Regions from separate parts of the Homo sapiens genome. Here region 1 is linked to region 2. The links are contacts of gene promoters, found by promoter capture Hi-C in human tissues and cell types (Jung and others, 2019). All regions are on one chromosome and are shown on one strand. The core of a region is centred on a gene start or on the middle of the fragment in contact, and the rest is flanking DNA. Distances in the headings are between cores, read along the strand shown. Region 1 has its middle 31 kb from the start of PROX2. Region 2 holds the start of PGF (placental growth factor).

Region 1 (4,546 bases), core at 1,317-3,816, 110 kb before region 2:
TGGCTCATGCCTGTAATCCCAGCATTTTGAGAGGCCGAGGCAGGTGGATCATGCAAGGTCAGGAGTTTGAGACCAGCCTGGACAACATGGTGAAACCCCATCTCTACTAAAAATATAAAAATTTTCAGCTACTCGGGAGGCTGAGCCAGGAGAATCACTTGAACCCAGGAGGCAGTGACCCAAGATTACACCACTGCACTCCAACCTGGGTGACAGAGCAAGACTCCATCTCAAAAAAAAGATCGGTGGTGGGAGAAACTGTCCAAAGGCCCAGCTCACATGGTACTGCGTCCCTGAATCTGTTCCTCATCTTGTTCCCTCCCAGCTCTCACAGGCTTTGTTTGTACATGTCCTACCATCTTCTCTTAATTTGCCTTTCTAGTAGAGTAACTTATATATCCTTCCCCCCCATCCTTACCCACTTACATACAAGCTCCTAGAAGGTGAGAATTATGTTTTACTCATCTTCCATCCTTGTAACACATAATATGCAGTATCTGTTACATATAGTTGCTACTCAAGAAGTATATTTAGAATTGATGACCTGGTGATTTTTAAGTATAAAATTAATTCATGTAGGTTCATATATGTATAATTTATAAAACCAATTCTTGTGTTTGCTTTTTCCCTACCTCTGTATCTTCCAGCTGGTGGCATATCAATACTTAAGGCGTAGCACATTCAAATGCCTTCAAAGGACAGGAAGATAAGTGTAAATGAGAGAATTGGCCAGTAATTTCATAATATATTTAGTTTTATTCTTTCAACAGAAACTTACTTTGTTTGCAGATTAGACATGTGGGAATATTCTTCACTCTTATAGAAAAATACCCTGTTTCTCATTCTCAAAACTTTTGGCACTCTCTTAGTTTTCCCACCTTTGGTAGAGACATAAGTACAGTATTATTTTTTCTTTACTGTGAGAAAAACAACAGCAGAAGCAGAATAAAACAGGGTACTTGGCCCTCTCAGCCTCAGGGTTCAGGAAGCAGTAGGGTATGGTGGAGGCTGGGATGGTGCAGAGTGCTTGTCCTGTCTCAGGGGACAATTCTCCAGCCAGTGGTTGGAATGAAGAAAGACAGACCCAATGTTACTAGATGAAGATAAAGTGGAAGTCTGCATTTTTATGTGAAATAGTCACAGTAGAAACAAATCACATCTGGAAGCCACATGTTACCAATAGGCTGTCATTTTGGGACTTTTCTGACATGCTCTAAAGGATGATGACAAGTCTGAAAGACAGTTATGGCAAAGAAGATATTTGTAAGAAAGGAAACATCAGGTTTTATTACATATAAATATTTTGAGCAGCACCTTTTTACTAGTATTTTGGAAAAGCATTTCTGTCTTCATTGAGCGAAGTGGCAATACATATGTAATATACTGATGCTGAATTTGCGGTGGGTTGATTTTTGTCCATTGTTGGCTTTCACATGGAAGCATGAATATTGTCTCCCCGCTACCCCTTTTGAGTGACATCCTTCCAGTACCTCCATTTCTCAAGTTGCAGGTAAGCACCTTGTGTATATACAGTTAAATAGTGGGCACACATCTATCCCAGGAAAAGAAGACAGTGAGAATTCCCTTTGGTTAAGTGGAGCAGTTGAATGGCCACTATACCTGGATGCAAATTTGATCCGAATTTTCTGCTCTAAACCCTCCACTGCTTTCTGCTGTTTCCACTGAGGAAAGAGGATGTGTGTCATTAAAGCTTTGTTGGGACCTGTCACAGTCAAGGTGGGTATAATTATGTTTAATTTATTGAAGTGTTTCTGGGCATCGTCTTTTTCAAATTCATATATTCTATCCAGAAGATGTGAATTCATTTTCATTATTAAAAAAATAAAATATTACAGATAAAGCTCAACACTCCCCCCTCCCCCTTAAGCACAAATACCTTGAATCTTAGAGGTAATTACTATTATTTTGGAGTGTGGCTTTTCCAAACCTTTTTGTGTGTATTTGTATACATATGTACTTGCCTATAAAAATACAGTTTTACTGTTTTTTACATGACTGATATTCTTTACATACTGTTCTGCAGACCTACTATGTCTTGGATACACACATGCATGTATATATGTATATATAGGTAAATATATATATAGGTAGATATAAATACATGCATTCATGTTTGTGTATATTCCATGATATGTGTATAATGGCTTACTTTTTCCTTTTTTTGTGAGTTTTTCACTGTCATACCAGTGTTGCATTGAACATCCTTGTAAATGCCTTTTGCAGGCTTATTTTCAAAAATCTTCCCTGGGGAAGATACAGAAGAATTGAATTACTGGGCTACAGGGAAACCATTTCTCTTTTTATTTTCTCCTAATAATTATCTACATGTGTGTTTTAGAAACAGTCTTAATTTAATATTGGGGGTTTCAAAATTTTTTTTCTCATTTTAAAATTCCAGTTTTATATGCTGTACTCATTTGAATTCTGCCTTTTGAATCTAGATTTGGAATTGATATGGATAAGCAAAATAGGTTCTAAGTGGTAGTGATAGTTCATAACCAGTTTGCTTTTGGAATAGGTGCTGTTTCAATCTTGGGGAAGGTAAAATGTCAATTGAGGAAATAATCTTTAATCATGAAGTTCTTTTTTCCAAGTCATTCTCTGCTCCCTTTGGAATTATGACAACTTGGATCCAGAGGTGCTGTGAAAATATTTTCTTACATCATACCTCTTCTTTTCATACAAGTTTGAATGATCCCGGAAAATACAGTTTTTGTATTTTCAAAAAAAAAAATGAAGTCTGGAACACCCACTTTTCTTAATAGGATCTAGTTTATTTGTTTAGGTAGTAAAGCTTTTATTAAAAGAACATACTTTGAGGATTTTCTGTTTCTCACCTGAGCCTTCTGTATTCACTAGATATGAAACTGAGTGCATTGGCAGGGCCTCTACTAGACCTGAAAGGCAGCATTCCCAGTGTTTATTTTCAGGGGCCAGAGGGAAGGCTATTGACTGACATTGGAGGCCTTAACCCCTGGATTGGTAAGGTTCTGGTGGAATGATTGCTTAGATTCCATAAACACTCGAATAGATGATTACTCCTTTCTGTATGTATGCATTTTTGGAAGAATGATAAAATATGAAAAGTGTGAAGAGTTGTGCACTCAAGTGGTGGTTTTGACCTGGGGAGCTTTTAAAACTCCCAAAGCTCAGGCTACACCTCATAGCAATTAAATCAGAATCTAGGAGTGGGACCCAGGCCTTGGTAATTTTTTAAAAGGCCACCAGGTCATTCTAATATGCAGCCAACTTTGAGAACTGGTGGGGTAAAGGGGATTTTAAATTTTATTTCATCTCTAGCTGATGATAGGTTCATTAAGCAAAACTTTCGAAGGCCCTGGTCTGTTGGTTAACTTTGCAGGTGTGGAAGATACAGTTGTTGGAAGGATACTTGTTAATGAAACTCTTTAAATGTGCAAAAGAAAATCCACCTAGGCTGAAAGAGTTAATGCGGTTTCCAAAGGTGCTTGATAGCCAAGAAACAGCTTAGGCACAGGGACAGTCTGGCTTCTTGGGAGCAAATAAAGCCAAGATTTAAAATGCCTTTTAATCTAAAACATATGTTTGCCCGTGGGCCTGGAAACAAGCCTAGGCCTTTGCAGTTGTGAAGTTTCCTCACGATAGACAGACATGAGTTGTGGTCCAATGTTATTTAAACTTGAAAGCTTAGAGGAGAAATTTGGTTTGTGGAGGAGGTTGTAGATGGGAGAAGAGAAGTGCAGTGGGCAGGCAGAACAAATTATTTTTCTGTGGTTTGTCCTTTCTGATTTTAAGAGGAGAACTAGTTCATAGTTCCAGTTATCACATACAAAATGGAACAAACCTCAAGAAAATGAGAATTGCTATTTTCAATAAGCTAGAATGATCTCTTTAAATTAATCTGCTTTGATACCTAAGATAATCTCTATTTGTGGCATAAGCGTCCTTATAAATGCATTCTATGGTGGTATGGACTGTTTTGCGTCTTCTTTAGAGTACGTGACTCCTTCATTAGAACTTTTCCCCAAAGATTCTGATTTCTCATTGTTTTTTAAATTTTTATTTTGAAATAGTTACAGATTCATAGGAAGTTGTAGAAAAAAATGTACAGAGAAGTCCTGGTGTATTCTTCAACCAGCCATCCCCAATGGTAACATCTTATACAATGAGAAGTGTGTGTCAAAACTTTTAAAAGCCAAGAAGTTAATGTTGATACACTCCACAGAGCTTATTCAGATTTTACCAGTTTTACAAGCACTCATGTGTATGTGTGTGTTTGGTTCTGTGCAGTTTTATCTAATGTAACTTCATGTATTTGTGTGTGTTTGGTTCTGTGCAATTTTATCTCATGTAGCTTCATGTAATCACCACCACCATAATCAAGATTCAGAACTCCATGTGGGAATGTGAAGAACTGTTAAGAGAATGAGTATAGAATGAGTCACTTTGCTTGTAGTCCCATCATGACTTAAATTCAGGACTTTATATTGTTGGGGACTGCTGCTTTGAGGGGGTAAGTAGCATAGCTTTTGCAACATAAAGTGGC
Region 2 (4,277 bases), core at 1,406-3,905:
GGGCATAGTGTGGAGGTAGGGGATGGGTCCTTCCCCAAATCCCAAGGAGCATAATGTTGTGCTGGTTCCAGAGGCACAGCAAGGGAGGCATCCATGAGGTCAAGGGCAGCTACCTCCTCTACCTGCTCAGGGGTCTAGGGGCCTAAGCCTTAGGTGTCAGAGTATGGCCAGGCCCGGGAGAGGCGGGCTGCCAGGCAGGCAGCCCAGCAGAGGGTGTTCCCAGCACGCAGATGGCTATCACGCGTGTGCGTGTGCATGTCCCTACATGCCCACTCTCCCATGGCGCAGGGGAAACCTCAGCGGTGGTGTGTGGCCACTTTGCACGTCTTGGAGAGGCAGGGAGGGAGGAGCGAGGTAGGGGGCCTGGCATGGGCCTCCTGCCTTCTGTACATATGTCTCTTTGGCAAACGTCTCGTTGCCCTTTGAAGACTCCCTCTTGATGCAACCAGGGCGGGGAGTGGAGGGGCCAGGGAGGGCGCGACTATGTTCTGTCTGTTTATAATCAATGGAAACGCATGGTCAGATCCCGGCAGTTCCACCAGGGCTGGGCTGCTGGGGAGGGCCCCTCACCCATTCCTGATCCTCTTGACTGCCCACTGCATTCAGCTCCCAGACCCCCATTCTGGCCCCTGGCACTCACTCCCCACCCTGTCCTCCAAGACCCCATCCATACCCTTAAATCATGCTGGGGAAGGGCTCTGAGCCAGCTGGATGAACCCTGGCTATACTGGCCCCAGCCCCACTCTCCGTGTGCTGGTGACTCCAGCCCACACCTCTCTAGTCTCTGGGTCACCATGAGGGGATCTCTTAGGCCCTGCCAAAGTCATCACCCAGCATGTCTAGCTTGTAGGCTCTCCCCAGCTTTTATCAACCTGCACCCACGCTTCATGCCACACCTGGGCTTGGGAGAAAGGAAGAGAGGGGCTTGGGGAGCATGCGTACCCCCAGCCTGGCCAGCTTACCTTCCACCTCTGACGAGCCGTTCCCAGCAGACAAGGCCCACTGCTATGGACAGAAAAGTGCAGAGGTGAGCTGGGGGTACCTTGGAGCTCTGCACTCTTGGGCCAAGTGTGATGGCAAGAAGGTAGGGGCCCCTCTGGGTTCCTTCCCACTTGCTGCACATGCTCTGCCCTGTCTCAGAGCAGCCTGAGTACCACTAAAAACTCACTGGACCCTGGGTAGGTTAGGTCCCACCCCTCTCTGGCCTCAGTTTTCCTCATTTGGAAAAGGATGGGAGGCTAGAAGCTTTTGGAGACCCTTGGCCTGCTGCATCCCAAAGATCTTCCAATCCTGCGGGTCTGCCTTCTACCCAGCCCCCAGGCCAACCCTGCTGGGCCCTGCACAGCCCGCCTTGGCTGGGTGCCAGAGCCCAGGGGGAGGTGATCAGCTGGTGGGAGCTGAGGGGCTGGAGCGGGTGGCGCCATGAGCTGGTGCAGCCGGTAACGTTACACCTCTGGCCAGCCCTGCAGCAGGCAGGCGGGTGGCTGGGCTGCTCGGACTCCTCAGGGACTGCCCAGCCCACTCCTACTCTTGGGCTGGGGCTGGGGACTCCCAGGGCAGTGGGACAACGCAGTGGGAAGGCAGTTCATTGGCTTTGTCAGGATTTCACTGCCCAAGCTGGCTCCCAGCCAGACTCACCCGGCTCCTGGGAAAAGGGCCCTGCTCACTTCCCCAGGCCCTGCACTCAGGACCTCCGGCCACCCACCCAGGAGAAAAGGCACAGCGAGACCCCTTGTCTCGTCCCCAGCCCACCCAGGAGCCCACGGCTCAGTCCTGAGCCCTGGTGGGGGCAGGGCCAGCCTCCCCACCAACAGCTTCTTCAGCTGGCTCCTCCGCCACCCCCACCAGGCCAGGTCAGAGGTCCTGGGGACGCCTGGTTGGCCATGGGGCCTCGACCCTGACCACAAGGCCAGGGACCCGCCTGGGATTAGTGGACAGATGCTTTTAGCAAAGCCACCAGGGCTCCAGGGGCCAGACAGGAAACCTCCCTCCCTCCCTCCCTCCCTGTGGCTTCCCTGCCCCCACCAAGACAGCCCCCAGGACCTGGGGGACAGCCAGCCTGAGGTCTCTTCCCAAACGAAAGAAGTCCAGCCTGGCCTTTAGGAAGTGTGTGGACATCCTTGGAGTTGCTGCTCCCTGGAGTGGGTCTGTGATTTCAGAGTCCCATGCTTCCAGTGCTGGGATGGGGAGGTCTGGGGAGCCAGGCTAGGTGGGGGTAGCTCTTACCTGGGGGGGCACAGCAGGCAGCGCCAGCCCGGCCAGGAGCTGCAGGAAGCAAGGGAACAGCCTCATGACCGGCATCTTCTCAGACGTCCCGAGCCAGGGGGCTCCGAGGGAAAACCACCATGCTCATCCCCCGGGGAGCCCCTGGCACAGGAGGAGAAGAGCTGAGTGGGGGGCTGGACGCCTCCCTCACTGCTGCCCCGAGGCCCCGGCCGGTGGTTCGAGCATCTTCTGGAAGCCTTGCGGAGTCAGGAGCCCGTAGGTAAGGCTGTGGCTGGGGAACCCGACGGGGAGCGGCCCGGCGGGGCGGGGCGCCGAGGGGCAGGCGGGTCCCGGGGATGGTCCGTCGGGCGCCCAGTGCCACTCCAGGTCCTCCCGTAGCTGGGCGGCCGTCCGTCGATGCAGTTTCCTCCGCAGACAGCAGCTCCCTTCTGAGACTGCAGCCGGTCCGCGCCTGGGTTTCAGGGACTGAGCCGGGGCGGGGCTCCGGGCCGGCCCCGCCCACCGCAGACGAGGTTCCCGAGCCGAGTTCCCGGAGCGCCCGGTCAGCCCGCAGCGCCCGGCCAGCCCGCAGCGCCGGAGCCCGCAGTGCGTGCGAGGGGCTCTCGGCAGGTCCAGACGCCTCGCCGAGCCCAGCCCGCAGCTCCCCGGGCCGCGCCGCGCCCGCCCACAGGGCCCACAGCCCTGCTTCGGCTCTCAGGGCGGTCACCTGGGATGGGGGCATCCAGGAGTCCAGCGTCAGCCGTCAAGGCTCATGATCTAACCGCCTCTGCAGGAAGGGCCGTCCGGGATGCCTGGGAAGGCAGCCATGCCCACACCCCTAGGGGGCCAAGGGATTCCTAGCCAGGTTATATAGATGAAGAAACCGAGGCTCCGAGAGCACCCCTGCCTGCATATGTCGAATGGACATAGGCATTCTTGGAAAGTGTGTGTGTGTTGTGTGTGTGCGCGCATCTGTGTGTCCGAGGAACTGGCAGAGACAAAACCCAAGCCTACGTGACTCCAGAACTCTAACCCGACCTACCACCCTCCTAGCCAGGCACGGACACAGTGGGCCTCCCACAGGAAACCTCTCAGGGCACCTGGCTGGAGGATCAGGCCTGTTGCCTCCTTGGGAAGCAGTCTTCCCAGGCCCTCCCTGCGGGGCAGCCCCCTGTGGTAGAGAGTGGTCTCACTCAGGCATCTCCTCCTGGTCCCTGGCCGAGGAGGAACTGTACGCTGCGCGGGGGTCTGTGTGCATCTGCGCGTGTGCATGGGCATTTGCGGGTCTGTGAATATCCATGAGCGGTGCATCTGAGCCTCTGTGTGGTCTGAGTACGTGTGACTACTGTACCTCCAAATACGCCTCTGTGTGGGGGTCAGGTCTCTCTGTATCTCTGTATGCTTGTGTGATCTGTTCGTGTCCGCTGTGTATCTGGGTGTGTTTGGAAGTGTCTGAATGTGTATCTTTCGGTGGGACTGTGAGTCTGCACGCCTGCCTGTCTCTGCGTGTGTGTGTCTGTCTCTGTGGGTGAAGACTGTGCCTCTCTCTCTGCGTTTGTGTGTGCCCTCCCTTGGTTCTGGATCTTTCTTTACCACCACTCCTCTCACTGCCTTCTGTGTCCAGCTCCCAGGCTGCAGGAACCTGGCAGGACTGGGAGTCACGAGTTGGCTGGGCCTGGGGCTGGTGGGTGGCTGTGGGGGAGGAGCGAGGCCTGGGAAGTGGCCCCTACAGCTCACATTCCAGCCAAGAGCAGGGAGGCCAGGGCAGCCCCAGCTCTCACCCCAGTGACCTCTGCGTCCACTGCCTGCCTGCCTGCCCACCCACGAGGGGCTGCCAGAGATGCAGCCTGCCTGCCTGGCCGGCCCTAAGCCTGGAGGTTCAGGAGGCGGGGGCCAGTCACCAGCTGGCTAAGCGGGGTCTGCAAGGAACATCCTGACGAGCTTCAAACAAGCTGGGGTTCGTGGGGTAGACAAACTGCTTCCTGGGCCCAGAATCATTGTGGAGGGTCACTGTGCATGTGTGTGAGGGTGAGTAGGTGTGTGTTTGTGCATATATGTATTGTATATGTTGC

Evidence for each region. Contacts are between HindIII fragments. The study calls those that stand out against the background at their distance.
Region 1: a fragment that was not itself captured here is called in contact with the fragment with the promoter of PGF in region 2 in 4 of the 25 tissues and cell types used here (adrenal gland, bladder, lymphoblastoid cells and 1 more).

What each region holds. Positions count from the first base shown.
Region 1 is chr14:74,842,751-74,847,296 of GRCh38, forward strand. No RefSeq gene overlaps it. Among named protein-coding and RNA genes, the nearest start is that of PROX2, 31 kb to the right of the region's middle. The HindIII fragment of the contact is 4,035 bases long and covers 550-4,546 here.
Region 2 is chr14:74,952,942-74,957,218 of GRCh38, forward strand. It overlaps PGF (placental growth factor), which reads right to left and starts at 2,656. Exons shown (of 7, transcript NM_002632.6): 1 at 2,227-2,656; 2 at 963-1,005. The coding sequence starts at 2,301. RefSeq lists silencers at 2,453-2,522, 2,703-2,802. The HindIII fragment of the contact is 10,779 bases long and covers 1-4,277 here.